2 separate regions of the Homo sapiens genome follow, and region 1 is linked to region 2. The links are contacts of gene promoters, found by promoter capture Hi-C in human tissues and cell types (Jung and others, 2019). All regions are on one chromosome and are shown on one strand. The core of a region is centred on a gene start or on the middle of the fragment in contact, and the rest is flanking DNA. Distances in the headings are between cores, read along the strand shown. Region 1 overlaps STMN1 (stathmin 1). Region 2 holds the start of HMGN2 (high mobility group nucleosomal binding domain 2).

Region 1 (5,746 bases), core at 1,488-3,987, 570 kb before region 2:
TGTCAGTCACATGGATTGCTCCAGAGCCCAGCAGGCCCTCCCACCTCATCCCTGTGCTGCCCCAACAGCCACCATGGCCACCGTAGCCTGAACGGCAGCCACTCTCCAGTCAACTCACCCTGCCTCCACTTTCTCTTCCTTAAAATGGTTTTGTTACTGACCACTGCAGCCCCCCACATTCAAAAGCCTTCAAAGAGCCTCCACTGCTTAGAATAAAAAAATGGGGAGGGGGCCTGCCTGGAGGGCCTGCCAAAGGCCATTAACTATGGCAGGTTCTCTGTGCACGTGGCAATCACAGGCTTACTAAGTGTTTAACAATTAAGTGCTTTATTGGGGTTTGGCTTGGAAGGTTCATCTGACTTCCAAAAGGACAAGCTCATGTCCTTTCTCCTCTCAAAGCTTCCCAGACCACAAAGCCCTCTGTGGTCACTCCTTTCACCAAAGCACTAAAGCACCCTGGTGAGTACAAGTATGTGGTCGAGAGCCTCACCCTCAGGTAAGTAAGCATTCTACAGCTCTCCTTCCCCTCACATGGGCACGTGATATGCTGGTCCCACCCCATCTTTTCTCCATCCCTAGCGCAAAGGCCAGTGTGGAGCACAATCTAGGTGCTTGTCAAATGTTAATTTAAGGGCCTCCTTCACGTCCTTCAAACCTCTCTCCACTGAGCCCAGTCAACCATAAGGCCCAAGTACAAAATCCTCAGGAAGGGACAAGCCTCATTTTCCATTCAAGACAAAAGGAATGGAGTCTGCTCCTTGGTGACAGCCCCAACTGCTTGTCAAACCACTCTGGCCTTATTAGGCCAATCTATTGGAAGTACTGCTGGGAGAGGCTGGCCCCACTGGGACAGACGCAGACTCCCGTGATGGCAGAGAATGCCGGGCCCGGGAATGCATACCCAGAGACACTTCCCCAGAAGCTCGTAGGTGCCACCGCTCCTCCTCTTCACTCCAAGCCAGATGCAAAGAATGGGGGAGTGAAAGTTACTTAACTGATCTCCCCCAACCATCTCATTTTATCCAGGAGAAAATGGGGGCCCAGGACTAAGTGCTTCTCCAAAGGTCAAGGTGAAATAGAAAAGCCAGAGCTTCTATTTCTGTGGTAAGATGCATCCCCTTCAGTTTCCTGTGACTTAAGCCTGTCACAAGGCAGGGGCTCAGGATCGCCCTCTGATAGGAAGTCAGGGCCACCATGGGATGGGTGGTAACTGATGAGGCATCCTTTCAGGCCTGTTGATCCTTCCCTTGCTTTCTCCTGAGGCCAGTTTCCCTCCCTAAATGTCTTAGATGAACAAAAGCTCACTGCCACTTGTAGGACACCTCGTATCATTATGCCAAGTTTCTACCCTCAGGCCCTCTTTATATTCCCATCTATTCAGAACTGGTATTTTAAAGATCCCAGAGCACCTGCTATGTGCCAGAGACAGGAGCCAAGATGAACTGTGCTGCACCACTGCACACAAGCCTCATCCTGTCCTCTTGGTTTAGATATTGCTCAGAACCTATTGTTGTATTCAACTATACTTGCACTTGCTCCTATTTGCCCTACATGGGCGTAACTCCTTAAACCAAGCTTTGTTCAGAATTCCTCTGATTGATCATTTAAGTAAATTTAAAAGTCAATTTAAGGAATATAAAAACTGCATAATTTCCAACTCAAGAGTATAAACTTAGATCACTCATTAGCCTCTGGTTGAAAACAGTAATCGTGATTTATACGGAATGCTAAATATCTATGTTCTAAGTGTGCTCTCTTGCCACAAACCCATTTAATCCTAACAATCTTAGGAGGTAAGTTGAGGTAGGCTGTTATTGTTCTCATGAATAAGTTTGGTAAAACCCCAATCTCAAGATACAGCCCAAGCAGCAGAGGCACATGCGTTAGCAACACATGGACCCCACCGCAGTATTAGCAATCATCTTTTGCTATAAGTGCTTGGCTTCCAAGAGCTTTTATACAGATGTCTGAGAGGCACAAAATATGTATAATTAGGCTATTTCTCAAATAGCACAGGAAAGCTGCCAAAGGCGTTCCCTGAATTGAGAGGCAAAGCACTGACAATGGGGACTATTACAGCCTCTGGATACAAGATGACGTATCTGCCAACCTTAACCACCCGAGTCAAATGCTACTTTAGAAATAATTAAGGTTCCCTTTAGTCATTTCACAGGAGTTGCTACAGCAGTACATAAAGTTTTATTAATATTCTGATTCTCGTGTCATAGCTTTTATGGCAGGAAAGGATGAGGACATGCCCCACCTGTAACGTAGAGCAAGCAAACCACCAAGTAGAATCTTGAGATTCTCTCTCAACTGTTCTCTAGAAACACGCTTGTGCTTTTAATCTGCCTTTTAAAAGGGACACAGAACAAAAAATGGTTGTTTGCAAATAAACATCTGAAAGAAAGTAACAGCTGACCTGGGCTGAGGCATCCAAACAAAGCAGTCATTGTGGAAGGAGACAATGCAAACCACACTGGGGCAAGAAACGGGGCAGAGAACGTGCGGTCATTTGTGCGTTGGGTATTTCTACCAGCCCCAAAGGCCCCATCTGGAACAAGTATCAACCAGGAGGGGCTCTATGGCTTGATTTATTAACCTAACTCAAAAGAAGTCACTGCCACCAACAGCACTGTGCAGTTTTATTAACCATTCAAGTCCAGTAGCATCTGGTAAGATTGGGACAGAATTGGGATTGAAAAGTGAACAGATATTCAGCATCTAACAGTTCAAAAGAAGCCACTACATACTCTTTTCACAAATATGTTTTCACAGAGCCAATACAGTACTAGCCATTAACCCAGTACACCAAGTGTACTGAAGTAGAAAAGATGCAACAAGAAAAATAGCTACATTAGAAAGACCAACACTTTAGAAAAAGAGTAAAACACTTTCAGTTTCTCCCCTTTAGCCCCTAAAACAACATCTTACAGTCTGGATCTGGATCTACCTATACAGTCCTACATTAGCTTCTAAAATATTTGTCAGGAGGGAAAAAATAAAATGACACTGGCCAGTACAGTCTTTGGATATTTAGGAAGGGGATGGGGAGAAAGTCAGTTCTCAGAACAAATTAGTCAGCTTCAGTCTCGTCAGCAGGGTCTTTGGATTCTTTGTTCTTCCGCACTTCTTCAATGTGCTTATCCTGTAAAGGAAGGGTAAGGTGTCATCAGTCAAAAAAAAAAAAAAAAAAAAAAGCCTGTCAAGTCACGACCCCCAGCCCCCACCTCAAAGAGGCCCAACACAACCTCAGTGCATATATTACAGCCTGTGGGAACCACACAATTTAAGTTCTGAGACATCATCATCAAATCTCCTGGGTCCCTTGTAGAACCTAACAAGCTGCCTACTGGACTTCCAAGGACTGTGCAATTATGCTGGGAATTACTGAATATTCCATCTTAAAATATACCTTTCATTTAATATGTTAAGCCCCAAAATGGATGACAAAAAGACACCAAACACCTTTTATCAAAGCACTTAGTTCAAGCCAACTCATTGGTGCATCAAACTCCAAGCTCAACCCTTTTACAAAGTAAGAAACCAACCTTCTCTCGCAAACGTTCCAGTTTGGCAGCCATTTGTGCCTCTCGGTTCTCTTTATTAGCTTCCATTTTGTGGGTCAGTTTCTCTTCTGCCATTTTACTGAAGTTGTTGTTCTCTTCTATTGCCTTCTGAAGCACTTCTTTCTCGTGCTCTCGTTTCTCAGCCAGCTGCTTCAAGACCTCAGCTTCATGGGACTGGAAAAAAAAGTTTAATAGGCTAGGCACTCTAAAATGTATTCAGGCTGGGTGTGGTGGCTCACGCCTGTAATCCCAGCACTTTGGGAGGCCAAGGTGGGTGGATCATTTGAGGTCAGGAGTTCAAGACCAGCCTGGCCAACATGGTGAAATCCTACCTATACTAAAAATACAAAAATTAGCCGGGCGTGGTGGCGGGTGCCTGTAGTCTAAGTTACTTGGGAGGCTGAGGCAGAAGAATTGCTTGAACCCGGGAGGTGGAGGTTGCAGTGAACTGAGATCGTGCCACTGCACTCCACCCTGGGTGACAGAGACTCTGCCTCAAAAAATAAAATGTATTCAGCATAAGTTAAAATTACAATAAAAATAATTTACTAAGGGGATTGAAAAGGGGCAGAAAATAAGGTCCCTTTAAATAACACCAAAATTAGGACCTGAATTATCCCTATCATAAAATACTGTGAAAATGATATTCTTTTTCTAGTATTTGTATTTAACTTTGGAAAAGTGCTTATCTGTTCAGAAATCTTACCCAATTAGTCCTTAAGGAAATCCTTGTAAGATTTACTGCTTAATGGTATCTGGATGACTTGAGGAATATGTACTTGCGAGTGGCACTTTTATTGTAAAGAATTTCACTATTTAACTTCAAAAGCTACCCAAAGAAAACTAGCTCATTGTAAAAATTTTAACCATAACTGATAAAACAATGATAGGAAATTCAAGACTAAGTCTGTAGATTACTATTTAAGACAGAAAAATTTGTTTCAAGGAAAAGGCTTATTAGCTTTTGTCTCAGGAAACTGCATTAATTACCAGACCATACCTTGGTATGACCCCTTCAACAGAACAGCTTGTTCTCAAAACACATTGGAACCACTGACTTGCAGGATAACCACAGAGCATCTGACACTGGTTCTATTGATTCTCTTCTGCCAAATCCTAGTCATGATGGGAGTTTCATTATATTTAGCCAGTTACTATGTAAAGCACAGGCTAATGACTACAGGGCCAGGGTTGATGTCTAAAAAGCTTTCCACTGTCCAACCTTTGGTTGTATTGCTTCCTCCTACTCCATGAACTCACACTATTGCATAGAAGACGACTCCTTAGTGTAAGCACTGAGGCTCTTCGGGCGGGTGTGTGTGTATACTACAAATCACTATGCTGGTCTGGGGAAGGTTATTACCTTACCTTTTGTGCCTCACTTGCCCCAGCTTTAAAATCAATCCTATCAGGGTTGTTGAGAAAGGGAGTTAAATGAAAAGTTATGTACAGTTGTTAATGAGTAACATTGAATGGAAAGAAACACACCAAAATGTTAACACTGGTTGCTTCTCGGAAGCGGGATAATGAATACTTTTAATTTCCATTTATAAATTTCTGTATTTCCCAAATTTTCTACAACTAGCATATTAATATTTATTGATTCTTCTGATTAGCTTTTAAAGATAGTTACTTTATAATAGAATTGTTTAGATAAGAGAAAAGCTACCATGATACCAGCTGAGCAACACAATCACACTAGCAATTTAAAATGTTATTGTACAGCTCTCAAAAAACAAAACCAAAGTGCCAAAGAATCATCTGGCAACAAATCTTTTCAAAGAGGAAGCATGAGAGAAGCATGAGCTTTGGTTTAAGATAGACCAGGGCTTGAATTCTGACCCCAACACTTACTAGTTGTATGACTGCAGAAAAACGACTTAACATTCCTGAAACTGTTTCTAATTTCCATTATTTGAGGCAACACCATGTATTAAAGGAGAAAAATATAAACAAAGGAGCGGGCATGTAACAGGAGTTCAATAAATGAGGACTGGTATTTCCTTCCAGTCACTGGCATATGTAATAATCACAGTGTAGCTACAATTCTGTTTTCTTCCTGTTATAGAAATAAAATTGATCTGCCCATTACATAAATTAATATCCTGCTTTCTGTGAATTGCTTCGTTTACCTTGCGTCTTTCTTCTGCAGCTTCTAATTTCTTCTGAATTTCCTC
Region 2 (5,671 bases), core at 2,727-5,226:
TAGAGAGGATTTTGCATATGTTATCTCTAATCCTTAAAACCACTCTTCAAGGTAGGCACAACCCCCACTTTACAGATGAAGAAATGAGGTTAGGACAGGATTTGCCCAAAGACACAAAGCCAGTTGATGGGGGAATCAGAAGTCAGACCCACATTTGTTTGGTTCCAAGAGCATGAGAAAAACTTTAAGAAGTACAGACGCTTCCACACAAAACAAACCAAGATGGACCCAGAATTGCCACTGCCCTGCCTGTACAACATGAGCACCACCCACTGCATACCTACTCCCAAGCCTTTTCAAATCTGGTACCTACTTTCCACTGTTCCACTTCACTTGGCCCACCCTGTGCCCCACCCCCTACCTCCTCCATCCCAGTTTCACCCACTCCTAAAAATGATCTCCCCACCCCAATCCCCACTTTTCTCTAGCAGAAGGCCCGAGACATGTATGCAGAGGAGCGGAAGAGGCAGCAGCTGGAGAGGGACCAGGCTACAGTGACAGAGCAGCTGCTGCGAGAGGGGCTCCAAGCCAGTGGGGACGCCCAGCTCCGAAGGACACGCTTGCACAAACTCTCGGCCAGACGGGAAGAGCGAGTCCAAGGCTTCCTGCAGGCCTTGGAACTCAAGCGAGCTGACTGGCTGGCCCGTCTGGGCACTGCATCAGCCTGAATGAGGCTGGCCACCTGCCACTTTGCCCTGCCCTCTGCCTCCAGGGCTCCACTCCCCTTCCTTTTCTTGGTGAAAGGCACCTCCTTTCCTGATAATGAATGGTGTTCCCTTTGCTTGGCTGGGGAGCCCCCCAGGCCAGGTTTGCTGGCCATAGATACCTTTGGGCTGCCTGGGACAGGCTCCTGAGGAGGATTGAGGGTGAAAGTCTCCCACGAGTACACTAAACCTAGGTCTGGTCACCAATAGGGTTTGGAGAGCAAAGGGCCACAACTCATCAGCTGCCTGTCTCTTAGATGCACTTTCTTTTTCCACCAGCACATCCTTCAACACACAGAATTTCAGGGAAGAGTTCTCCCCAAAACCCTAGCTCTTTACCCTTCCATTTTAGCCTTCCACCCAGCTTCCACAAAAGATTTGGCTCTACCTTGGATCTGCTAGTAAATAACTAATAGGCAGGCAGTTATTTGGGTAAGGAAAAAAGGGGTGGGAGAGACAGAAAATTTGCCCATCTGCTGCTCCTCCCCCTTGGCTCTCCACCTGGGATTTGCTATTGAATCTCTACCCTCTCCCACCACACAGTACTGATTGCTCACTGAAAGACTCAGCACCCCCAATGGTGCGCGGAAGCCAGGCGGGCGATTACAATCCAATTACCTATTGTCGACTCAGCCCACACAAGCTTTTCTCCTCCTCTTGCAGGGCATGGGGCCAGGCTCCACTCCCAAATGAGACTGGCCCCCTCCATGGTTCAGGGTAACAGAAGGGCCTGTAGGCCCTGGTGAACTGAATCCAGCACAGGCCTCCCCTGTAACACAACAGGACTGAGCAGAACCAAACACTTCTTCCAACTGACTCTGCTCCCTGCCCTCACCATCTCAAACTCTGATTCCCACTCCACTCTTCGAGGTTTCTCTCAGCTTTTTGACCTGGCTCCCTAAGTAGGCCCTAGATGATTTATTCTTGGCATGGCAAAGCTTGTTCTAGGTCCTCTGCTTGTGAGGGTCAAAGCTGTGTCCTTTCCCTTACCTCCCTCTGCCAGGACTTGCTGCAGAGCTGCTGAGAGGATTAGTGCCTTTGAAGAGCTGTCTGCCTGAGCAACTCTATTTCAGGTGCCCCACACCGGCAAGTACCAGCCAGCAACACCAACCAAATGCTACTCTCTTTAAAGTCCATTTTCCTTCTTCTTTTTTTTTTTTTTTTTGGAGACAGCATCTCACCCTGTCCTGGCTGGTCTCGAACTCCTGACCTCAGGTGATCCGCCGGCCTCACCCTCCCAAAGTGCTGGGATTACAGGCATGAGCCACCATGCCAGACTTCCCATTTTACTTTCTGCAAGCTGTTTCCCTAGCAGCTCCCTCTAGGGGAGAGGTGAAATCTTGCAAGTTGTAGCAAGAGCACACAGGAAACCCCTAACTTTCCTATACCCCACCCGCCTCTTCCCCTTTCTGTCCCGGGATACCTGGCGGCAAGAGACTTCTTGGCTATTGTCCATGCTCCCAGAATCAAGCATAAATGCCAGACACGGCGATTGAGAAGCCAATCAGTGAACCCTTTGGCAAAGCCCCCATCCACACCTGGCACTCCCCTCTACCAATCCCTGGCACAGGGTTCCTGGAGAGCAGGTGCTGTACATTTTACAGCTTTACAATGGGGCTGTTGACAGCCATAATTAGGGAGGCATGAATTATGCGGCTATAATGCAGAGCCCTACAATTAAGGCGGGAATGAGGGGCTGGAGGCAGCAAACGGAATCTGCCCTATGAGCGTGGCTGTTGAGTCCTGTCTCCTGGGTCTGACTTTCCGTAATATGATTGGGGTACAGTAGAGGTGATTAATGGGGCTGGCATCTCTCTTTGGCCTGAGGTTCTGTATTCTGGGAAAGGTACACAGGGTGGAGTAGGGAGAAGCTGCCCCAGGAGGCGATGTAGTGGTGGAAAGAAGAGGCAGAGAGGTCGTCGTCGTCGCCCAGCAGCAAGGGCTGCAAAATAGTAGAACTCGTGGTTGCTTTGGACAGGTGTGATTTGTGCAAGCCAGGTTCAACCCTTGCCTCAAGAAATCAGATGGGACCAATTTAGTGTCCTTCCACCTGTGAGCCAAGCCCCCATTTGAGGACATCTATCGTATTCTTGTGTGCTGGGTCTCAAATAGAATTTTTAAAGATTCTTAGATGTAAAACTTGTTTGCTAACTGCAACGGAAGAACACCTTCTTTTGCTGCTGCAATTGCCTACCCTCCCTCAGGTGCACTTGGCTAGCTCCAAGACCCTGGCTTTGGACTAGGGGGCACCGGAAGAGCCCTTTTGCCATCACACCACCTGTTCCTCTACTTGTTTCCTAATCCCCGGGCGCTTTCCTCCACCCTCCTTTCCTCGCGCAAGTGAAAGGCAGCCAGCTTGACAGTGTGGAAGGAGGGATTTCGCCAGCTGCGGCTGCAGTGCCCAGGCTTGGTGGCCGCGTCGGGTTGGGCAGCTGGGCAAAATGTCTCCGAGAGGGGTAGAGTGTAGGGGGAAGTGAGTGCTGGTAGACCTCGACGGCCGCTCTCCACCATACTGTGGCGGGGTCTGGAGGTTTGGGAATACAGGGACCTTAAGGGAGCCACCCGAGAGGAGTTGGGGGTGGGGGCTTCGATAGCATTTGGGGAGGCGGCTGCGCAACGGGTGCTGAAAGGACAGCTCCTACCTGACCCACGGCACCCAAAAGGCACCTCTGCATGGAAAGTCTCCCCCTGAAACCCCTAGCCCACCTCGAGTGGGACCGTCTTTCAGGTGAGGTGCACGAAAGGCTTCTCCGAAGTGGCAGCTCGGAAGGATGCACGTCCGGCTGCGCCAAGCTGGTTTCCCCGCCTTTTTCCCACTTTGGCGTCAGCCTGGGCTCTGGGAACTGCAGCCTGTGCCTCCAGCCGCGCGCTTCCTCCTGCTTCCAGAGGAGCAGGGCAGTGCAGCCAGGCCTCGCAAACCCCTCTTCTGGGGCCCCCAGCGGGAGCAGGAAGGAAAGCCGCTGAGATGCGCCGTGAGTGTCGCACGGCTTGGAGAAGTGGGTTGCTGGGTTGCATAAGGTGGAAGGAACTTGCTAGTTTGCAAAAGACAGCTCTTGGCGGGAGCCGGAACCCGGAGCCCGCCGACTCGCGCACCCCTCCTCATTTACTGCCTTCGACGCGCGCCACCCCGACTGCGCCCCCACCCCCTCGGCGCGCCGCCGTCTCCGCGCACTACCCCCCCCACACACCCCCCTCCTCACTCCCTCCAGAGGAGGTGAGTTTAAACCCCGCCCACGTGACCCCAGCTGGGCCAATGAACGGCGGCGGGAGGTGAAATCCGGTTCTAACCGGTCCGGGGCTCCCAGCGCTATAAAAACTTTATAAACCCCCCGGAGCCCGAGCAGTGTGAAGAAGAGGCGAGAACGACCCCCGGACCGACCAAAGCCCGCGCGCCGCTGCATCCCGCGTCCAGCACCTACGTCCCGCTGCCGTCGCCGCCGCCACCATGCCCAAGAGAAAGGTACGTGGCGCGAGGGCCCCAGGCGCCGGGCCACCACTGCCGCCACCGCCGCCGCCGCCTCCCTGGTGCAGGGAGCGAGAATCGGCGCCGAGCAGGAGCCAGCGCAGCCTCCCCGCGCGGGGGCTGGAGACGGTGTCGGGCAGCTCGGGGCTAACCCTGAGCGGCTCGGCTGCCCGCGGGCGCCAGAGGCCATATTGGAGGAGCGGCGGCCGCGGCGGGAGGAGCCATGTTGGCGGCTGTTTATCCCGCTCTCCTCGGGCTCGCCGCCCCCGCCCCGTGCCCCCTCCCCCATCGCGAGGGCCCCTTCCCTCCCCTCCCTGCGGGCGGGCAATTCAAACCCGAAAGGGCGGGAAGGCGGCGCTCGGGGTTGGCGGGCGGGGGAAAGCGCTGCCGCCAAAAAACCGCCGCCGTGAGGGGCGGGGCTTGTGCGGTATGGCCCCGCCCCCTCGCCCACGTTCCCCGCGCACGAGACGCGCGCTGTCGCCGCCCACGAGTTCCCCGGGCTGCGCGCGCCTCCCTCTCCCGCCCTCGACGGCTGCCATAGCAACGGCGCTGGGCTCCGCCTCCGGAGGGGGTTTGTTTGCGCCATCTGCAGCTGTTGCTCCTGCCTGTCGCGGTGGTGCGGGCTCCGCTGCCCTCCCCGGCTGCGCTCCGGTCCAGCCCTCGCTTCTCGGGGTCGGCGAGCCGGAGCTCCTGCGCGCGCTTCGTTCTTATACGAACGTCGGGCTCACTCATTTATGTCCTAGAAAAGTTGTGTGGACGACTGCTTTAATTTTCATTTTTAGCACTCTAAAGTTTGGGAAGTAATTAAGAACCACCTCAAAATCTGCAGTTTTTTGTTCTTGTTTCTTATAGGCTGAAGGGGATGCTAAGGGAGATAAAGCAAAGGTGAAGGACGAAGTAAGTCATTCTCTCTTCAAGGGTCAAAGCCTTGGACTAGCAGAGGCCACTGGACTCGGTGATTAACCGTAACCTGTGTCCTGAATTTACACTCCTATAATCTAGAGCAAATTGATACCAAACTTTCAAAGCGACTTACCTGTCCTATTTCTAACTTTCTCGTTGTCTTTAATAGCCACAGAGAAGATCCGCGAGGTTGTCTGCTGTAAGTGTATGCTTTTGAATTTTCGTGCTTGTCCCTGAAACTAAAAAACATCAAAAAACAATTCCCTTTGCTTCCATGAATTATGGTTAGTGCCTGGTTTTGAATCATTGCCTCTACTTGGGACTCTTGCCCCTTTGGGTTTTGCTGGTTCTGAAATTCTGATGCCTGTAGCCAAAGTGGGACATTTGAGTGGGCTTCTGGAAATCCAACATTCTAGAAGAAAGCCAACCACAAAAACTTTTGAGGAGGAGGAGAAACTTCTCTACCCTTGGTACTTTTGGTTGGTTGTGGGTGGTTTTCTTCAGTCCATTGTACTGATGTTCACTTTTTCCTCTCTTCCTGCCAAAAAAAGAAACCTGCTCCTCCAAAGCCAGAGCCCAAGCCTAAAAAGGCCCCTGCAAA

Evidence for each region. The method cuts DNA at HindIII sites, captures the fragments that hold promoters and counts their contacts. A contact is called where the count stands out against the background at its distance.
Region 1: a contact is called between a fragment that was not itself captured here and the fragment with the promoter of HMGN2 in region 2, in 1 of the 25 tissues and cell types used here (dorsolateral prefrontal cortex).

The regions. Positions count from the first base shown.
Region 1 is chr1:25,897,940-25,903,685 of GRCh38, forward strand. It overlaps STMN1 (stathmin 1), which reads right to left. Exons shown (of 5, transcript NM_005563.4): 3 at 5,702-5,746; 4 at 3,552-3,743; 5 at 2,177-3,148. The coding sequence ends at 3,077. Among named protein-coding and RNA genes, the nearest start is that of STMN1, 5.6 kb to the right of the region's middle. The HindIII fragment of the contact is 6,597 bases long and covers 1-5,746 here.
Region 2 is chr1:26,468,464-26,474,134 of GRCh38, forward strand. HMGN2 (high mobility group nucleosomal binding domain 2) reads left to right here and starts at 3,977. Exons shown (of 6, transcript NM_005517.4): 1 at 3,977-4,164; 2 at 5,020-5,064; 3 at 5,240-5,269; 4 at 5,622-5,671. The coding sequence starts at 4,150. DHDDS (dehydrodolichyl diphosphate synthase subunit) reads left to right here. Exons shown (of 9, transcript NM_205861.3): 9 at 432-2,843. The coding sequence ends at 668. RefSeq lists enhancers at 2,584-3,292, 3,293-4,002 and silencers at 3,372-3,787, 3,672-3,941, 4,202-4,491, 4,532-4,701. The HindIII fragment of the contact is 14,054 bases long and covers 1-5,671 here.